2 separate regions of the Homo sapiens genome follow, and region 2 is linked to region 1. Evidence: promoter capture Hi-C in human tissues and cell types (Jung and others, 2019). All regions are on one chromosome and are shown on one strand. Each heading gives the region's core, a stretch centred on a gene start or on the middle of the fragment in contact. The rest is flanking DNA. Distances are from core to core; before and after follow the strand shown. Region 1 holds the start of KIAA1671. Region 2 overlaps SNRPD3 (small nuclear ribonucleoprotein D3 polypeptide).

Region 1 (2,805 bases), core at 171-2,670:
TTCTCGGGCTGCTGTTTGGTAAACAGGGTTTACCCTGCCTGGGTCTGATGGTGATGATCAGACCTTCAAAAGGGTTGCAGTGCAAACGGTGTGGAGAACAGGAGCTACCCTTGTTTCTTACACACACCCAACAATTTAAGAGCAAAATGAGGCAAGAAGTCTCCCCACCAATCCTCCTGAAGCCACACAATGTGATGTCTTTTTCTTTTTTTTTTTTTTGAGATGGAGTCTTGCTCTGTCGTCCAGGCTGGAGTGCAGTGGCGCGCTCTTGGCTCACTGCAATCTCCACCTCCCGGGTTCAAGCCATTCTCCTGCCTTAGCCTCCCGAGTAGCTGGGATCACAGGCATCCGCCACCACGCCCAGCTAATTTTTGTAATTTTTAGTAGTGACGAGGTTTCACCACGTTGGCCAGGCTGGTCTCAAACTCATGACCTCAGGTGATCCACCCGCCTCGGCCTCCCAAAATGCTGGGATTACAAGCCACCGTGCGCAGCCTGTGATGTCCTTTTCTTTCTCTTTTTTTATTGAGGTCTATCTTGCTTATAATAAAGGCACATTGATTTTAGGTCCTCCAGTTATTCATGCTCTGTACATTTCCCATAGGAGCACATGTCACAGATTCAATTTGATATACTCGTGAAATTATTTGTTTGAATATCTGTAAGCTGCACAACAGCCTGGATTTTGCCAGCTGCCCACCACTGGGTTCTCCAGCACCCAGCATGCAATAGGTGCTTAATAAAGATCTGCTGAATGAAATGAGTAACGGATAACAGAACAGGTATTTTCTCTTTCAGAGGCGACTTCCTACGATTCTCTCAACTTGTCCACAAGTTCCTGTACCCATTACCCCACAACTCACACCCACAACATAATGGCAGGAGGATGCGCACACAGTAGGCGCTCCAGCGAACTCTCAGGTGCAGTGCCCTTGCTTGGCGCGAGGAGGCGCCAGCACCGCGCACAGACCTTGCCCGCCCCCGGGCCGGCACCAGCAGCCCAGGCAAGTCAGTGGGCCCACATTTATGGAGCGCCTCCTGAAATCCTGGGTTGCATTAGGCTCTCGGGGTCGCCGGCTGGGCAGCGGGTCGGTGCCGGTGGCGGGGGATCCTGGCTGGTGACTGGGGAACATCCAGGGAACGCGGGAGGGTACCCGGAGCAAAGTTCCCAATTGGACAGAGCGGGGTCGGGCCTCGAGGGGCGGGAGCGCTTCCGGCAGGGGTGTCCAAGCGAGTCGTGACCTCTGACCCGCCGGAGAGGTCCCAGGCCCAGGCGCCACTGCGGACTCGGGTCCTGCCTGCTCTGCTCCCCTCCGCGCAGGCGCGGCCGGCGGCAGTTCCCATGGTGACGGGGGCGCGTCCCCGCTCGAGGCCCCGCCCCCAGCAGGCTAGGCTGCGCGGGGCTGCGGGCTCCCAGGGCAGGTGCCGCGGGCTGCGGGCAGGTGGCGGCGCGGCGCGGGCTGGCGGTGGCTCCACGGTAGGTTGCGCAGCGGCTGCGGGCAGTGGGGGCCGGCTGGCCGCCTCCTGTCCCCGGCCGACGAGGTAGCTGGGGGTGACGGCGGCTGGCGAGGGCCGCCAAGTTTCTGCCCGGCCGAGGCCCCGGGAGAAAAGTTGGCAAAGTTGGCCGGGGAAGAGGCGGGGAGCCGGAGGATTTCCCCAGACTCCGGGTCTGCAGGGAGGGAGGATCCCGGTTTGGGAGCCGGGGAATCCGTCTCCCGAGACTTGAGAGTGGATCCCGCGGGAAGATCCCGCACAGGGCAACCAATGGATCACGTGCCACCTGGTTGGCGACTTGGGAGTCGATCCCTGGAGGGGATCGGGCGCTGGAGGCCTGGGGTCCCACTGGATCCCCAGTCAGGGGTGACGGCGAAGGGTGATTCGAGACTGGGAGCGAGAGGATCAATCTCCTCCCATGCCAGCCTGAGCCTTGGGAATGGATTCAGAGAGATCCCGTGGCTAGGAGCTGAGGGATCGCTGGAGATCTGGGTTACTCAGCCTGGAGCTGCTAGGGTCTGGACATTTGTGCGGGTTGGAGGCCCCGGAGGTGGAAGTGGGAAGCAAGGGCGGCGAGCGAGACGGAACCCTGGTCGAGGGGAGCCCGGAGGACAGCGCGGTGGTTCGGGGGGCGTGAGAGGGGCGGCGCGCGGGGCCCCTCGGACGCGGAGGCTCCGGACACGTCCTCTCGGCCTGGCCTGCGCCCCCCCTCCGCTCGTCTTCCCAGGGCGGAGGCGCCCTGATGGGATTAAGCCTCAGTCCCCCTGTTACCAGGCAGGCCCGCGTGGTCCCCGCCCCGATGGCGGCGCGGCCCACCCGGGCTCACGGGTGGGGCCCTCGGGATGGGAAGCGGCTCGTTGACCCCCACCCGAGCCTGACCTTTTCACACCCTGCTGGCACAAACTCGCCTGGGAGTGGGGACGCCGCGCCTTAAAACCCTGCTGTTTGTCCAGTCCCGGAGCAGGCGTGTGACCTCCACCGCGCGACGCCTAGGTGGCTAGGGCTTCCTGCCTGCCGGGACTGAACTTTCTCTAGCCAGGAGCAGCCATTATCTTTTGGAAGGGAAAGGACTGTACCTGTTGCACAAAGAAAAACACTTTCTTTGCACCTTTTTTGTGACCTTGGGCAAAACACTTAACCTATCTGAATCCAGATGGGGACCCTCTGGGCAAAATGGGCTTGGCCTAGGATGGATCGGAATGAAGGGTATGAAACAGGTAGGGGCTCTATAAGTATCAGTGCCTCCCTCAGTCTATGGCCTCTCCTTTCCCGTGCCCCATCCCCTGTGCTTGCCTTACAGTATCTAAAGAT
Region 2 (2,805 bases), core at 107-2,606, 390 kb before region 1:
GATCTTTTCACCTCAGTCTTCTAAGTATCCAGGACTACCAGTGTGCCCCACCATACCTGGCTAATTTTTAAATTTTTTTGTAGAGACGGAGTCTTGATATGTTTTTCAGGCCAGTTTCAAACTCCTGGCCACAAGTGATCCTGCTGCCTCAGTCTCTCAAACTCCTGGAATTACAGGCATGAGCCACCACATCTGGCCTGTAAAGATTTTTTGTCTCTAAATATGATCACATTCTGAGGTGCTGGGTATTAGGACTTCAACAATGAATTTTTTTGAGGGATACAATTTAGCCTGTAACAGGATGTAGAGGCCTCACTGGGTCTATCAAAACCTAGGCACATTGAATAAGAGCCAGCAGACTGTGGCGTAGCTAAAGCTGGTGGTGGGTGAACTCTGAGCACAGTTTAGTTTGTTCAGCACATCTCAGGCTGTGAGGCTTGCCTGTCCTTCCCAGATCCAGTCATTCTGCCTTTTGGGAATGAGAACATCCTCTTAGCACTTTTCCTTGCTTGTTCAATAACATTTTCTGTTATAAAAGTGGGGTGGGACAAAATGTGGTGGCTACTCCTATAATCCCAACACTTTGAGAGGCTGAGGCAGGAGGATCACTTGAGCCCAGGGGTTCAAGACCAACCTGGGCAACATGACAAGACTTTGTCTGTAAAAAAAATAAAATAGACGGATGTGGTGGCACATGCCTGTAGTCCCAGCCATTCAGGTGGAGGCTGAGTTGGGACGATTACTTGAGCCCAGGAAGTCAAGGCTGCAGTGAGCTATGGAGTGCCACTGCACTCCAGCCTGGGCGACGGAGTGAGACCTAGTCTCACACACACACAAAAGCACACCACAACGATTCGGAAAAGATAAATAGAGGATCTCACTCTGTTGCCCAGGCTAGTCTTGCACTCCTGGACTTAAGCGATCCTCCCACCTTGGCCTCCCAAAGTATTGGAATTACAGGCCTAAGCCACACCTGCCCTGTTTTGGGGTTTTAGTATTTACTTTTTATTCTATCCTCTTTCAGAAATAGTTAGACCCTGTCTCTTCTGAAAAGCAAAAAAGTTTAAAAATTATCTGGATGTGGGGCTGGGCACTGTGGCTCACGCCTGTAATCCCAGCACTTTGGGAGGCTGAGGCGGGCAGATCACGAGGTCAGGAGATTGAGACCAGCCTGGCTAACACGGTGAAACCCTGTCTCTACTAAAAAAAATACAAAAAATTAGCCAGGTGTGGTGGCGGGCGCCTGTAGTCCCAGCTACTCGGGAGGCTGAGGCAGGAGAATGGCGTGAACCCAGGAGGCAGAGCTTGCAATGAGCCAAGATCGCGCCACTGCACTCCAGCCTGGGCGACAGAGCAAGACTCCATCTCCAAAAATAAAAAATATATTATCTGGATGTGATGGCTTATGCCTGTAGTCCCAGCTACTCCATAGGCTGAGGCAAAAAGGATCACTTGAGCCCACCCAGCAGTTCAGGCTGCATTAAGCTCTGGTCGCACCACTGCACTCCAGCCTGGGTGACAGAGCAAGACCCTATCTCTAAAATTAAAAAAATTCTATGGCAGGATAAAAGTAGATGCATAGATCATGGTGCAGGTAAGCTGGGGTAGAATGTAAAATGAAGCCAAGCAGTCAGTATCCAGAAATGTAAACCTGAATCTCTCTGTACATTGAATAAAGGTATATTCCAGTGTAAGATTAAGCAGGGAAGATCATCAGTTCCAAAATGCATAGTGTTCTTAAGTTAAAATAGCAATTGTGTGGATTTCCCTGGCACTCAGATACAGGAGACACTATTAGATGATATCCTCGACAACATCCCCATACAAAATACCCTTTTATGGTCCCTCAAGTAGTTTTAAAGTATCCTGTTATCTTAGCACTGTTTTTGACATTTGAAAATGCAAAATATGGCCAGGCACATTGGCTCATGCCTGTAATCCCAGCACTTTGGGAGGCTGGGCCAGGGGGATCACTTGATCCCAAGAGTTTGGGACCACCCTGGGCAACACAGTGAGACCCTGTCTCATATATGTGTGTGTGTGTGTGTGTGTGTGTGTGTGTGTGTGTATGTGTGTATGTATGTATATATGTATGTATATATATGTGTGTGTGTGTGTATATATATATATATTTTTTTTTTTAAAGGAAGAAGAGGAAATATGTGTATGTGAAACTCAGGATGAGGTCCCTGAAATGGTGCTTATCGGGTCAGAGGGTGTGCATCTGAGGTTAAGCTGGGAAGGCAGGGAGCTTTTGTTCTCCTTCTCATTCCGACAGCTGCAAGCCAAGCACTGGTGGCCAGTGCTGCAGGATAGGGCATCAGCTGCAGGATATGGCATGTTGGTCAAAATGCTGTTGGCATAAGTGAGAAAAATAACAATACTCCAAAATATGTCCCCAGTTTTATAAAAATGGACCCAAATTATAAATGATACAAGCAAATACAGAGAGTAATGGTCAAACCCATTTCACTACATTCAAAATGACTTAATTCTTAGAAGTTTTGGTGGGAGAATGTGGTGTAGAGCTCTGCACAAGCAGACATTGTGCTTTTGGGGCTTCAACATGACCACCCAATCACTGATGGGACTGTTTGAAATCTGTTTTGTTGGCTTTGGCATATAATAGCCATCTTTGGAAAACTGGTCTCTGTATGGAATATGGTCTTGTGTCACTGTATAAAAATGAGAACCCAAAAGAAGCTCTCACATGATTGGGTCAGAAAATTGCCCATAACTATTGCTAGGAAAGTTTTTGAAATCTCTGAATTCAATGTAATTGAATTTCTTTAGACACCTAGCCCT

Evidence for each region. Contacts are between HindIII fragments. The study calls those that stand out against the background at their distance.
Region 2: a contact is called between a fragment that was not itself captured here and the fragment with the promoter of KIAA1671 in region 1, in 2 of the 25 tissues and cell types used here (bladder and heart right ventricle).

What each region holds. Positions count from the first base shown.
Region 1 is chr22:24,951,296-24,954,100 of GRCh38, forward strand. KIAA1671 reads left to right here and starts at 1,421. Exons shown (of 13, transcript NM_001145206.2): 1 at 1,421-1,477. RefSeq lists a silencer at 1,238-1,487. The HindIII fragment of the contact is 5,810 bases long and covers 1-2,805 here.
Region 2 is chr22:24,561,176-24,563,980 of GRCh38, forward strand. All of the region lies in intron 2 of SNRPD3 (small nuclear ribonucleoprotein D3 polypeptide), which reads left to right. Among named protein-coding and RNA genes, the nearest start is that of SNRPD3, 6.6 kb to the left of the region's middle. RefSeq lists an enhancer at 738-1,239. The HindIII fragment of the contact is 9,525 bases long and covers 1-2,805 here.